Linked DNA regions of Homo sapiens: region 2 is linked to region 1. The links are contacts of gene promoters, found by promoter capture Hi-C in human tissues and cell types (Jung and others, 2019). All regions are on one chromosome and are shown on one strand. The core of a region is centred on a gene start or on the middle of the fragment in contact, and the rest is flanking DNA. Distances in the headings are between cores, read along the strand shown.

The links. Contacts are between HindIII fragments. The study calls those that stand out against the background at their distance.
Region 2: a fragment that was not itself captured here is called in contact with the fragment with the promoter of TMEM39B in region 1 in 1 of the 25 tissues and cell types used here (spleen).

The regions. Positions count from the first base shown.
Region 1 is chr1:32,070,076-32,077,367 of GRCh38, forward strand. It overlaps TMEM39B (transmembrane protein 39B), which reads left to right and starts at 2,864. Exons shown (of 9, transcript NM_018056.4): 1 at 2,864-2,976; 2 at 4,876-5,002; 3 at 5,528-5,747; 4 at 6,688-6,771; 5 at 7,089-7,243. The coding sequence starts at 2,973. RefSeq lists an enhancer at 2,263-2,868. The HindIII fragment of the contact is 13,852 bases long and covers 1-7,292 here.
Region 2 is chr1:32,198,773-32,206,064 of GRCh38, forward strand. It overlaps CCDC28B (coiled-coil domain containing 28B), which reads left to right and starts at 1,823. Exons shown (of 6, transcript NM_024296.5): 1 at 1,823-1,937; 2 at 3,141-3,327; 3 at 5,107-5,273; 4 at 5,414-5,607; 5 at 5,826-5,848; 6 at 6,422-6,615. The coding sequence starts at 3,164. The coding sequence ends at 6,476. It overlaps IQCC (IQ motif containing C), which reads left to right and starts at 6,899. Exons shown (of 5, transcript NM_018134.3): 1 at 6,899-6,951. The coding sequence starts at 6,910. RefSeq lists enhancers at 482-1,040, 1,041-1,598, 1,811-1,890, 2,669-3,189, 3,151-3,200 and 4 more. The HindIII fragment of the contact is 5,077 bases long and covers 1,775-6,851 here.

The DNA of each region.
Region 1 (7,292 bases), core at 1,614-4,113:
TGCACTCCAGGCTGGGCGACAGAGTGAGACTCAGTCTCAAAAAAAAAAAAAAAAACTGTCATAATTTAAAAATATACATCTGTTGAATTGGACTCCATATTTTCATTAGTGCAGGCTACATACCTTGGAGTCATCCTTATCTCTTCTCTTCCTCACACACTCCTATCCATTTTGTCAACAAGTCCTGTTTTGTTTTTGTTTTAATTTTTTTTTAGATGGGGTCTTTCTACATTTCCCAGGCTGGAGTGCAGTGGCACTATCACGTCTCACTGCAGCCTCAATTTCCCAGGGCTCAAGTGATCCTCGTACCTCAGCCTCCCAAGTAGCTGGGACTACAGGCACATGCCACCACACCTTGCTCATTTTAAATTTTTTTTTTTGTAGAGACAGGGTCTCACTTTGTTGCCCAGGCTGGTCTCAAACTCCTGGGCTCAAGCAATCTTTCCACCTCAGCCTCCCAAAGTGCTGGGATTACAGGCATCAGCCACCATAGTCAGCCCAACAGATCCTGTAGACTTTACCTTCAAATCCAGAATTCAACCATGTCTCACCATCTCACCCAACCTGGTGCAAACGATCAACATCTCTTGCTAAGATCATTGCCACAGCCTCCTGCCTGGTCTCCCTGCTTCCACCTTGGTGCCCCTGCAGTCTATTCTCACCATACAGCTGGAATAGTTCTTTTAAATAGAAGTTCAAACCCTATAATAGCTCTGCATCTCATTCAAAGTAAAAGCCACACAGCCCTACATGATCTATCCCTTCTCATGTCCTACTCTTATATCTATACCTGTGTCACACTTGCCTCCTTATTTCTCAAACACACCCTCTTGGCTGGGCGTGGTGTCTCACGCCTGTAATCCCAGCACTTTGGGAGACCGAGACTGGCAGGTCACTTGAGGTCAGGAGTTCAAGATCAGCTTGGCCAACAAGGTAAAACCCCGTCTCTACTAAAAAGTACAAAAATTAGCCGGTGGTGGTGGCACGTGCCTGTAATCCCAGCACTTTGGGAGGCCAAGGCAGGCGGATCATGAGGTCAGGAGATTGAGACCATTCTGGCTAACATGGTGAAACCCCATCTCTACTAAAAATACAAAAAATTAGCAAAGTGTGGTGGCACACACCTGTAGTCCCAGCTACTTGGGAGGCTGACGCAGGAGAATCACTTGAAACCGGGAGGTGGAGGTTGCAGTGACCCGAGATCACACCACTGCACTCCAGCCTGGGGACAGAGTGAGACTCCGTCTCAAAAAAACAAACAAACAAAAAAACAAAAATTAGACCAGGCGTGGTGGTGCACACCTGTAATCCCAGCATTTTGGGAGGTCGAGGTGGGTGGATGATTTGAGGTCAGGAGTTTGAGACCAGCCTGGCCAACATGGTGAAACCCCGCCTCTCCTAAAAATGGAAAAATTAGCCGGGCATGCTGGCGGGTGCCTGTAATCCCAGCTACTTGGGAGGCTGAGACAGGAGAATCGCTTGAACCCGGGAAGCGGAGGTTGCAGTGAGCCGAGATCGTACCACTGCACTCCAGCCTGGGCAACAGAAAGGGAGACTCCAGTCTCAAAAAAACAAAACAAAACAAAAACAAAAATTAGCCGGGCATGGTGGTGCACGCCTGTAATTTCAGCTTGTTGGGAGGCTGAGGCAGGAGAATCGCTTGCACCCAGCAGGTGGAGGTTGCAGTGAGCCGAGATCGAGCCACTGCTCTCCAGCCTGGGCAACAGAGACTCCATCCCCTCAAAAAACAAAATAATAAAATAAATACACCCTCCTGCCTGAGGGACCTTGCACTAACTATTCCCTCTGCCTGAAATGCCCCCTTTCTCCAGAAATCTGCACCACTGACTCACTCATTTCCTTCATGTGTTTACTCAAGTCAACTCTGAAGCCTGCTCTGCCTGCCCTATTTAAAACTGCAACCCCATCCCCCTTTCCTGTTTTTCCTTCACACCATTCCCATCTAACATACTACAGAATTTACCAATTTTGTTCATGTCTATCTCCTCCCACTTGACTGTAAGCTCTATGACTATTAATGAAATATCTACTAATTCATTCAATTAATTGAATACTGCTATTAAGTGCCAAGCACTGTGCTAAGCAATGGAGCTACAAGATGACTAAAACTGCTTGTAGGTCTTGTGAGGGAAGAATCCTAATGACAATAAATGTAGCTCATTTAGTCAATGCTTCTCCAAACATCGTGATGGCTAATACTAAAACAGACTCAGTTCTGCATGCTCTATTTCATTTAACCCTCACCGAAACCTACACGGTGACCATCAGCAGCCTCATCGTAAAGCATAAAAAAACAAGATTGCAAGGCTGGGAAATGGCAGTCAGGATCTGAACCACGGTGTTGACAATGAGAACGGTGAGTAACGTCAAATGTGAGAAATATTTAGGACTTAGGCTCACAAAGACTAAGGCAAAGATCGGATGTGGGGGCCGAGGGAGGGAGGAAATGACTCCTGGATTTTGACTGGGGTGGACTAAAGCGCAGTGAGGCCTAAGAGAAGGATGAAGCGCAACGTGGGGCTGGGCTGGAGGTGCCTGCGGACCGGTCAGGGATATGGTCCACCCCTAGGGGAGCGGAGAGGCGGCTCCGCACCCTCCTCCGGTCGCCGCCGCCCCGGTCCAGGAGATGCTGAGAGAAGACACGCACGGGAAGAGCAGGAGGTGGGTTCCGTTCCCCTCCCTCTTGAGTCTCTTCACCAGCAGCTGCAGGAAGGGCGTGGGGGACCGAGAGACAAAGAGCGCGCAGGCACCGCCTCCGTCCGGGCGGCCCCTTTAAGAAGCGCGCGCCAGCTTCCAGCCCGCCTTGTATGCAAATGTAGCGGCGCGGCGGGAGCGCGCGGCTGATACCCGGGACTGGGCTGCGGCGGTTAGTCCTCTCCCGGCCGCCGTCGCCTCCGACATATTGCCCGCAGGAGCTGCGGCGGCGAAGCGGAGAGCACCGGGGGGAGGAGATGGGTGAGCAGAGCGGCTCAGGCTCGGCCTGGCAACGAGCGGGCGCACGGGTTAGGATGGCCAGGCTGCTAATTGCTGCTCCACGCGGACAGGAGCCCGGTGACGGGAGGGGGAGGGGATGCGAGCGCAGACGGGATCCCGCCCCCTCCTGTCGTTTTGCGGGGTGGGGCCTCTGTTGTGGGGGCGGGACATTGGACGGTGGGCGGGGCTTCTAAGACGAAGCCCTGTGGGGGCTTGGGCTTTCGTGAGGACCAGCTCGTCGGGGCTAGAAAGGGGGGCGGGACTTACCAGTGGGCGTGGCTTCAGCGCTAAGGGTGGAGATTCTGGGCAGGGGGCGCTAGTGCAGTCGGCGTTTCTGGGTTGGAGGGGTTACACTGGGGGCGGTGGAGCGGGGAGACTTCCGACTGAGGGAGCCCATTCTGGAGTGGGGCTTCTGGGCTGAGAGGGCTTTTATTGGCTTGTGGGCGGGGTTTCTGGGCTGACAGTTGTGTGTAGGCGGAGCTTCTGGGCTGAGGGGCTTTATGTGGGTGCAGAGCTTCTAAAGAGAGGAGAGTGGGTGTGGGCAGAGCTTCTGGACTGGACTAAGGGTGTTTGTGTGGGATTTTCTAAGCCAAGTATAACAGCGTATGAACAGAGCTTCTGGTCTGGGGGTTTATGGAGGGCAGAGCTCTTCGCCAGGTACTTTTTAGAGACTTGTGGAGGTTTATAATTTTGGGCATACATCCAAGCCCAAAATTGGCTCCGAAGTGTGGGAAACGCTTCCGAGCTGAGATGCTACGGCGTGGGGTGTATGTGAATGGAGGCTGCTGTGTTACTGTGAAGAGGTATGAACAGGTTATAACTTTTTAAAAATATGTATATGTATGTATATATATTTTTTAATAGAGACCGGGTTTCGCCATGTTGCCCAGGCTGGTCTCCAACTCCTGGTCTCAAGCGATCCTCCCGCCTCGGCCTCACAAATTGCTGAGATTACAGTCGTGAGCCACCACACCCAGTCAGGTTGTGACTTTTTTAGGTGCTTAGGAGCTTTGTGCAGAACTTTTGTGCGAAGTGGTGCGTGGGAGCTTGGGCTAGACTGCTCAGCCTAGTAGGTCCAATTTTTCAGTCCACAGCCACAGGATTCTCCCAGCCATATCCTTGACCCTTTATTTAGGCCCTGGGTCCTGCCCATGAGATCCCAGAATGCCCTTTGAGCTGAATCATGGGGCCCTGGATGAAAAAGCTGTCCCAAAGTTACCCAGAGTTATAGGCCTCCAGAAACTTATGTCTGAATGGGGCCCAATGTGTACCAGAGTTGAGAGCACACGACCCAGCCACGATACTGTGACATAGTGTAAGCTGAGTTTCCTAATGTGTGAAAAACCTACCTTGCTGGGTTCATTCACTCATCAACATATACTTGCTGGGCACTGAGGTAGGGGATATAGCAGTGAAAAAGATAAGGTAACTGACCTCATTGACCTTTCATTGTAATAGGACAGACAAGCAATAAGCATATTAACAAATGAGTAAGATAATTTCAGAGAGTGAATTCTGGTGGAAAAAAAGAATAGAAATTGGAGAGAGAGTGATGGGGAGTTACTTCAAAACTTCAGAAATGGCAGTCCGGGAAAGGCTTTCCAGATAGGATATTATAAGTGCTAGAGGTAGCAATGAGCTTGGCTTGCTGAGGAAAGAAAGATCAAGATGTTTAGAGCATGGGGCGGGTGGTAGAGGGTGGGTGTGAGGTAGAGAATGATAGGGGATGAAGCTGAAGATGTAAGAAGGGGCCAGATCATAGGTCTCAGTGAGGATTAAATGATAAAGTGAGATACTAGGTGACTGGCAGCTGGTATCATTGCTGTTATCCTTGATATATGCCCCCTGGCTTGAGGCTCTATTTTATGTTGAGCCCCACAGGAGGACGAAGAGGTCCCAACAGGACATCTTACTGTCGAAATCCGCTCTGTGAGCCGGGATCCTCGGGGGGCTCTAGTGGAAGCCACACTTCCAGTGCATCGGTGACCAGTGTTCGTTCCCGCACCAGGTAAACCACCTCTCTGTCTCACCCCTCACTGTGGCCTCACAGGGACGATGTGGACAGGGCTCTCTCTGACTGGATTCTAAGATGTGAAATCCTAGATGCCAGTGGGGGCTTAGAGGGGAGTAAGCAGCAGAAAAGATCCAGAGGGAGCTCAGTTGAGGGTGATCACTTGGACAGATGCAGTGGGACATGGTAGAATAAATCCAAAGGCCTGGATTCTAATTACAGTTCTGCTCCAGATTTGCTGATGGCTTGGACAAGTTGCCTCCCTTCTCTGGGCCTCCTTTTCCTCATCTGTAAGATGGACCTAATAATTCTTTCTCTCCTAGGGGGTGTTGGAAGACCTGAATAAGATTAGGGATAGGAAAAGGCTTTGTCGGGTTCCTTTGTCTGACAAGCAGGATTAGGAAGACCCCGTCCTTGCTATGAGCTGCTTTTCTGATCTTATCCCACAATCCTTTGCCTCAGAAGCCCTTCCTGGTAGGATTCTCAGGTCAGCTGCTGATGTTGTTCCCTCCCCACTGTCAGGAGCAGTTCTGGAACAGGCCTCTCCAGCCCTCCTCTGGCCACCCAAACTGTTGTGCCTCTACAGCACTGCAAGATCCCCGAGCTGCCAGTCCAGGCCAGCATTCTGTTTGAGTTGCAGCTCTTCTTCTGCCAGCTCATAGCACTCTTCGTCCACTACATCAACATCTACAAGACAGTGTGGTGGTATCCACCTTCCCACCCACCCTCCCACACCTCCCTGGTAGGTACCCAACAAGGGTGTGTGTGTGTGTGTGTGTGTGTGCGTGTGTGTGTATGTGTGTGTGTGTTTCTTTTGGTTTCAGTTTAGCATATCCTACTAAGCACCACTGTGCACTTGGCTCCATGCTGAACATGGAAGGTGCTGAAGGAACAGGAAACTGATGATTCACTGAATACTCCTAGTGTGTTTAGTAGCACATTGGGCACTGTAAGTGTATGGGAGATGAATCTGACAAAGATTTTGCCTAAAGGAGCTCAGAGTCCTTTTCTTTTCTTTTCTTCTTTTTTTTTTTTTTTTTTTTTTTTTGAGACGGAGTTTCGCTGTTGTTGCCCAGGCTGGAGTGGAATGGCGCAATCTTAGCTCACTGCAACCTCCGCCTTCCAGTTTCAAGCGATTCTCCTGCCTCAGTCTCCCGAGTAGCTGGGATTACAGGTGTGTGCCGCCATGTCCGGCTAATTTTGTATTTTTAGTGGAGACAGGGTTTCACCATGTTGGTCAGGCTAGTCTCGAACTCCTGACCTCAAATGATCCACTCGCCTCAGCCTCCCAAAGTGCTGGGATTACAGGCGTGAGCCACCGCGCCCGGCCAGGAGCTGAGAGTCTTAATCCAGTAGTGGAGATGAACCACAGGGATACATGAGTGCTTCAAGGGGAGGAAAGACTTCAGTGCAGACACAGTATAGGGACAGGGGCATGTGTGAGCAGAGCAAGAGGGCTCACATACCACTCTCTTATCCCCAGGGACTGTCCCACTTCCCTTCTCGGGGTCCTGTCCTACTCCTGTAGGTAATTTCCTGGCCTGACTCAGCTGGAGGCCGATGAAGGTCAGAGAATGAGGACAGTCTCTGTGGAAAGAAATGGGCAGCGGGAGGTGGGTATGAAAAAAGCCTGCATATGGGCAAGGGGCCCACATGACCCCCAGGCCTCTGCCCCCTGACAGAACTTCCATCTGATCGACTTCAACTTGCTGATGGTGACCACCATCGTTCTGGGCCGCCGCTTCATTGGGTCCATCGTGAAGGAGGTGATTGGGTCCTAGAGGCTGGCCAGGGACTTTGGGATTCCCCTTTTCCCCTGGGGATGCCAAGGAAACATGCCCAGCCCTTCAGCCTTAGGGTATTTCCTTGGGGCTCCCTTTGGACTTGGTTGAAGAACATTAGTTACATCCCATCTTGGAGTTTACTGGGCATCAAAGAGAAGGATTTACCTTGCCAGGTTCTGCCCAGCCTGCTGTGCCACCTCTCCCTGGGTGGGATCACAGGTCATGCTGGGTGGGATTTGGGCACAGCCCCTTCGGCCTCCATCCAAGGCCCCATCCCGTCCTATCTTGCCCCGACCCAGGCCTCTCAGAGGGGGAAGGTCTCCCTCTTTCGCTCCATCCTGCTGTTCCTCACTCGCTTCACCGTTCTCACGGCAACAGGCTGGAGTCTGTGCCGATCCCTCATCCACCTCTTCAGGACCTACTCCTTCCTGAACCTCCTGTTCCTCTGCTATCCGTGAGTACCCCTCACTTCACCCCTCACTGCCCAGCACCTGGCCCCTGAC
Region 2 (7,292 bases), core at 3,063-5,562, 130 kb after region 1:
CTGGGCCCAGAGTCTGGGTACCAGGTTAAGGAATGTGGGCTAGATCCAGAGGGCAGGGGGGGCAACTGAAGGTGTTTCAATAGGAAATTGATAGGCTCCAGCAGTAAGGCAAAAGGCATGGAGCCAGGCATAGGCCATTTGAGGCCCAGGTTAAGAGGGGTGGACACTCATCACTGCTATTTGGGTCTGAGCTGTGGGTAGGCTCCTATAGCCCTGGCCTGCCCAAGGGAATTCACAGGGGCCTCTAATTGTATGCATTCCTTAAGGAGAGCACATTCTCTGTTCAGTTTTTACACCCCCCATTTACCCACCTCAAGCATGGGACTCCTATATGGGAGACATGCTGCTGGTGGCCTCACCCAGCACCCTGTTCTCTCTGGGTCCTGGGTTGGTCAGGCACAAAGGATGATATGTGCTGAATGCCCAGGAAATGGCAGAGACAACCCACCTGCCCTTCCCTCCAGGCCTCCACAAATAGATGTGCCCACAATGACTGTGACAGTCCCAGCAGAGCCTCTGACCCTTCTAGCTGGGTCCTGATACATGTTTTCCATGCTGGCCATGTTATTTCTAGTCGCAGATCCTCTGGAGGGTGTGGGGGGGGTGCCGCCCCAACTCTTGGAGATTCCAAGCAAAGCAGCTCTGAGAATAATGAGGTTTCTGACCCCCCAGTGAAGCAGCTGAGGATGGGAACCACAGGGGTGCTCCCTCTGTCAGCAGCATTACCACTGTCTACTCTAGCAGCTCCGGTGGGGAAGGAGAGGGATTTCTGTTGTCCCCAGTCTGGGCCCCTGGTTATTGAAAAAGTTCGGAATTACTCTTTACCCTTGTGGAGTGTTCTGAGTGTTGGAAGTACCCAGGAAGAAGCCCTGAGCAGGTGCCCTCAGGAGCAGTGCCCATGGCTCCCCACATCAGCCAAGAGGCCCAACCCCAGGAAGCCACTCCTGCCCGGGGATGGGGAAGGTGGGCTGGGTGGCTGTGTGCACTGCCCTGGGCCAGCTCACTTGAGCCTGCTGAGCCGCCTGGCCAAACATGAGCCTCTCTCCTGTTGTATCAGATGCTGTTCTGGGGACCTGCGCCAGGAGCCTCTGCCAGGGCTTTAAATAGCTGCCCCCATTGATCTGGCTGCAGGCAGCAGCAGTCACACTGGGTCAGCCTCCATCAGGTGCTCAGGTTTCCCTGAGGACTGGAGTCAGGTGCCAGGGAATCGCGTGGTCTACCTTATGACCTGGTGCTCCCCACACCTGTCTCCTAGGCCTGGGGGGTGGGGAGGACTCCTGTCACTTCATCTGCGGCAAAATACAGCCCCCACCACTTACCAGAGAAAACTGTCTGGCATTGTAGAGAGAGGGGTTTTGCCCTCAAAAGACTGTTGCTTACTTTCAGTAGAATGGGGAATGACACTGGTATCTTCCTTAAGGGTTGTTATGGGGATGAAATGTATGTAAAGTGCTCAATAGGGCACTGGACTCACTCCATTGATGGCTGTCTTTGCTCGAAGTGTCTTCCTGATGCTGCTGCTGTTGCTGCTTGTGCTTCTTCTGTGCTTACATTCTCTCTCTCTCACTCACTCACTCTGTCTCTCCTCTCCCCCGCCCCACCCCCTTTCTGACAAAGCCACCACCATTTTGTAAGGAACTGTAGCTTCTCTCTGAAACTGCCGGGAAAGGGAAAATCTTTTTAAAATAGACATCACACAACCAACAGGGTCCCCTAGGTTCAGGCGGGGAGGTGAGGTCGAGTGAGAGGAACTGCTTAGCATACGCGGGGATGCTCCTCCCATCTCACCCCACCGCGCTAAGGAGAAGGTCACTTTCTCTTTAAATGCAAATGAACTCCCTCCAGCTTAGCTTTCACCCGGTGGTGTTCCCGGGAGGAGAGGGCGGAGGGCGGAGGGAACTTGCACCGAAGCATCACTCGAGACCCCAAACCTCCAGGTCAGTAGCCCCCTGAGGGAGTGAGGGCGGGGGCGGAATGACGCGGGTCTGACGCTCTGTCTTCGAGCGCGGCTGCGGAGCTGAGCGATGAGTTTGGCACATGGCTTTGGAGCCCGGGCTTGGGAAATAGATCCCCGGTCGCCCCAGCCGCTCCTGGGGAGCACAGGCTCCGGCTCCAGTTCTTCTATCAGGTCCCTAATTGGGTCAAGCTGCTGCACGGAGAGGCAGAGGATGCGCTCCTATCTCCCCTCCCCACACCCGCAGACCCCGTCAGTGGCAGCCAGCTATGTGTCAGTGTAAATGCTTAAGCGCCACCCACCCCCCCAACCCCCCCAGTCCCAGAATTCGAAGTTAGGCTCGGTAGCAGCAGCCTGGAATGAGACCCCCAGAGGAGGGAACCCCAGCCGACCGGAGGCTTGGGGGGCGCTGCTGGACCGGGGACCTCGGAGCAGCCCAGCCACAGGCGCAGCCTTTGTCGGAGGCCCAGGCAGCCAGCGGCCAACCACCCAGTCCACCCTGGCTGCAGCTGAAGCCCAGCAGGGACTTTCCGACTGGGAAAAATGAAGCAGCTGAAAGCACACCCGCGGGACCTATAGGGAGTCCCTAATATTTTCGGTTGGGGGTGGGTGGAAGTGGAGGGATGCCGGTGTCTATGTGGGGGAAACCCACAATGAACCCTGCCCTGTATGCTGCGGCTTCTCCTACAATTACCCACACGCTGGGGCTTTCCCAGGCGCCCCTACCTGCACCTTGTCCCCCTCCCATGCTGACAGGGTTTGTTAGCATCTGCTTAGGCCCCTGATAAATAGAATAGGGTTTAGTTAAGACATCCCTAATCTTCGGCTGGGCTTCTGCAGCTCACCTCCGTCTTGTCTCCCACTACATTTCCTCTGCCAGCCCCGCCCCCCAGCCACCGTGACAGGAAGCCCCAGTAGCGCCAAGATAGTTGTGACTGGTCCCACCCTTTCAGGAGGGGCCTAGGTTTTCAGGCAGAAGGGGAATTAGGTTGGGCCTTAGAAGGTCCTTCAAGTGTACATCCACGATCCCAGCAGCAGACACTGGCATCTGGCTCTGCCCCTACCGTATAGATGAGGTGACAAGCTGGAAGGTCCCAGGGCCCTTCCTTGGTGCAGCTCTCAGGGATTTCTGGGTGAAGGGCTAACTTTGCCCCTGGCTATCTTTGTGGGGTTGCTTCCCTCCTAGGCCTGAGGCCCAGCCAGCGCCCAATGGATGACAAAAAGAAGAAACGGAGTCCCAAGCCCTGCCTGGCCCAGCCAGCCCAGGCCCCAGGCACACTACGGAGGGTCCCTGTGCCTACCAGCCACAGCGGCTCCTTGGCCCTAGGACTTCCTCATCTGCCATCCCCCAAGCAGCGGGCCAAGTTCAAGAGGTGGGTACAGAAGGGAAGGAAAGGAGGAGGGACCCCAACTCTGGGTTGCACTGTAGAGAGGAAGGCAAGGGGGGCCTCCGCCTTTAGTTCCTAAGCAATAATTGATGCCTTTCTGGAGCAGACCCCTGAGAACTCAGAGCTCACTCAGACCCAGTCCCTACCCTCAACTGTGTGGCAAAAAGGCCAGGTGGGTCACTGGGATCACATAGCGTGAGGATTCGCCTCAGAGGAGGGAGTGAGCAACTCTGCAAGAAAGTGAATGTTCCACGCTGAGAGGCTTACCTGGTATAAATATGGAAGAAAGCTATTACCTGAAAGGTTTCAGGAACCACAGGTGGTTTGGGGGCCCTGGAGTATCAGGGAACAGGAAATGGTGAGGAAATACCTGGGGGCACAATTTGAATTCTCTGTTGAATTTTTTTTATGATTGGGAGTTTGCATGCTGCCTTATAATGTGTCCATGTTTGTTCCCCACTAAATACAATGTATTCTTTCTCCAGTTGCTCCAGATAAGACCACTGTGTTTCCCCCTGGTTTTGCACACCACTTGCCTAAGGGGCATGAAGCTCAAGGCTGTGGGGAGAGTAGCAGGAAAGGCAACTGGGAAGGCAGGAGGGCCAGGCTGGCAGGGGCATTCAATTTTATCCTGAGAGCAGTGGAAATTTTAAGACAGTTTTTTTGGTTTATTGGTTTGGCTTTGTTTTCTATGTATTTTTGTTTTTGTTTAAAAGAGTTTTTAAATAGAAGAGGGTTGGCTGGGCATGGTGGCTCAGCCTATAATCCCAGCACTTGGGGACGCTGAGGCAGGCAGATCACCTGAGGTCAGAAGTTTGAGACCAGCTTGGTCAACATGGTGAAACCTCATCTCTGTTAAAAATACAAAAGTTAGCCAGGCGTGATGGTGGGTGCCTATAATCCCAGCAACTTGGGAGGCTGAGGCACAAGAATCACTTGAACCTGGAAGGCAGAGGTTGCAGTGAACCGAGATTGTGCCACTGCACTCCAGCCTGTGTGACAGTGAGACTCTGTCTCAAACAAAAAAAAAATTTTTTTTTTAATTAAAAAAAAAGAAGAGGGCTAGGGGCAGTGGCTCAGGCCTGTAATCCTAGCACTGTGGAAGGCCAAGACAGGCAGATGACCTGAGGTCAGGAGTTCAAGACCAGCCTGGCCAACACGGTGAAACCCCAACTCTACTAAAAGTAAAAAAAATTAGCAGGGCATAGTGGCAGGCGCCCATAATGCCAGCAACTTGGGAGGCTGAGGCAAGAGAATCACTTGAACCCAGGAGGCGAGGTTGCAGTGAGCCGAGATCACACCACTGCACTCCAGCCTGGGCAACAGAGCGAGACTCTGTCTCAAAAAACAAAAAAAAAGAAGAGGGGCAGAAAGATATTTTGGGAGGAGGTAAGACAGCCCTGGTGGCAATAAGGGAGTAGCTGTCTCTATATACGCTGAAGACTAGGGAGGATAAGTGACTCATTCAGGGTCATAAAACAAATGAGTGAGGCACTCAGACAGGAACCCAGGGACCCCCTTTCAGGCACTGCTCTGGCTGTGTTATTAGCAGAAAAGACTTCTTTTTGACCTCTTCACGCCTCCTCACCCCTTCCCAGTGCCCAAGGGGAACCATAAAGTTACCCATTTATGCTAGTAAGTAGATGGGCAGATGAGTTAGTGCAGATAGACAGATAAACTGGTGCATAGGCAGATGGCACAAAAGATCGGGAGGTGCCTGACTGCCCCCTACCCTGTGATCATGGTCATGTCCACCCCACCCAGAGTAGGCAAAGAGAAGTGCCGCCCAGTCCTGGCTGGAGGTGGAAGCGGCTCTGCAGGCACGCCCCTGCAGCACTCCTTCCTGACCGAGGTGACTGATGTCTATGAGATGGAGGGGGGACTCCTGAACCTGCTCAATGATTTCCACTCTGGCCGGCTGCAGGCCTTCGGTGAGTCCTGGGGGCTGGTTTCAGCGGGTGTGTGGATAGGGCTGTAGGGCCCAGTCCATGGGGCATGGCTGGGACCATGGTTCCAGGGTTCCAGGGTTCCAGGACTCTTTCCCAGGGTTCAGACAGGGGCTTCGTTCCAGGGAAGGAATGCTCCTTTGAGCAGCTGGAGCACGTTCGGGAGATGCAGGAGAAGCTAGCCCGGCTGCACTTCAGCCTGGATGTGTGTGGGGAGGAGGAGGACGATGAAGAGGAAGAGGATGGGGTCACTGAGGGGCTGCCAGAGGAGCAGAAGAAGACAATGGCTGACCGTAACCTGGACCAGCTGCTTAGCAATGTGGGTTCATGTCTGGGTGCTTTGGTTCCTGGGGGCATGAGGGGTGGAGAAGGTACATACTCCCAAAGCCATTCCTGGGCCCTGGGTGAAAAGGTGGGAGTGCATGGATCCAAGAGCTCTGGGCCCCTCAACCTCCCCAGAAGATAGCCCCCAGAGCATTGGGGATTTGGCCTGGTTCCCCTCCTAACAGAAGCCTCCCTTTTTCTCTTTGTTGGCAGCTGGAAGACCTCAGTAATTCTATGTATCCTTTCCAAGGAACCCGTCTATGTGTGTGTGTTCCTGAGAGGTCAGTTTCCTCCTCTCCAGCCCTCCAGGAGTATTCACACACAACCAACTTCCCCACCTCTTGCAGTCCTGTCAGATTTAGCCACAGACTGCCCAAACCCAGGTACAGGAATTTAGAATTTCCCCAAAATTAGAAGAAAAGTGGTTGTAGGGGATGTTTTACTACTGATCAAAATCTTTGTGAGTACTTTAGCTGACATCAATCATAGCAAAGCTTGTCCGATGTCCTCCTATCCTTTCAGCATTGAACAATTATTTTTACTAATTTACACTACCACCTCACCTGGTCCTCAGTCAGAAACAGCGCGAGTGCGCGCGCACACACCCCAGTGTGTCTGACCTGCACGATCTGGATGAAGAGAGAGGGGGTGAGAGAGGGCAGGCGGGGACTGCAACCTCAGTCCACAGACGGCCCGAGACCCTCGTCCCCGGCCCTTTGCACAGGTGAGGGAACTAAACCTGTGCAAGATGGGAGACCGGGGTGGGAGGAAGGACTGGTCCAAAGCGCCACGATCCTTGACGGGCACAGCCAGAAGCTGCACCTGGCCGAGAACGCCGAGCCTGAGGAGCAGTCCGCTGCGTAGGCGTCCCACGCAGGCCCACACTGCCCCTCTCATTCTCTTCAAACTGTGACTTTTTACAGACTCGGGCGGGTGTTCTGCGGCCCCCCAGGTGCTATGGGGGAGGGGGGCGTTGAATGGAATTAAACCAGAAAGAAAGCAAGCGGCTCCGTGTCCTGCTTCCCCTCCTTGCGCCTTTCCTCCCGGTCTCCGCGGAGACAGCCCTCGGTTATGGAGGTACCGCCTGCGGGATTGGAGTGCCCCTTGCGGCTGTGGGAGGGGCAGTCGGGGGCTGGGGGGACGCAGGTACGCCTGTCGCCAGGACGCCTCTACCCTGGACGGTAGGAGGTTGCCGTGGGAACGGCTGGGGCAAAGCCCACGCCCGCGCATGCTCAGGAGCGACGCCGACCAATGACGTACTTCGCAGGCGCGCGGGCGGGCCTGGCAGTTGGCGCCCATGGAGCCAGAGCTGCTGGTTCGGAAGGTGTCTGCATTGCAGGTGCGGGGGCGGGCGCGGGGTTCACAGGATTTTTCCTTTAGGGAAATCATGGGGTCTCGTACCTGGACCTCCCAGCGAGATGCTACCACGTTCAGTCCCCTAACTGCGCGCCAACCTCTGGAGATACCGGCTGTCCCCAACCGCGCTGAGGAAAGCTGGGACCCACGGACTCCCTGCCCTGCGCGTCCCCACTCCCACCACACGCTCGCGCCGGATCAGGGAAACGGGAAGAGCCTTAAGGCGAGGAGGGGCATCCAGTCTGGCATCGTCCCTCGAGCCCCCCGGAGCCCTAGCGCACAGCCCACCTATCCTTTCCCCGCCGTCAGGTCCCCTCTTGCATT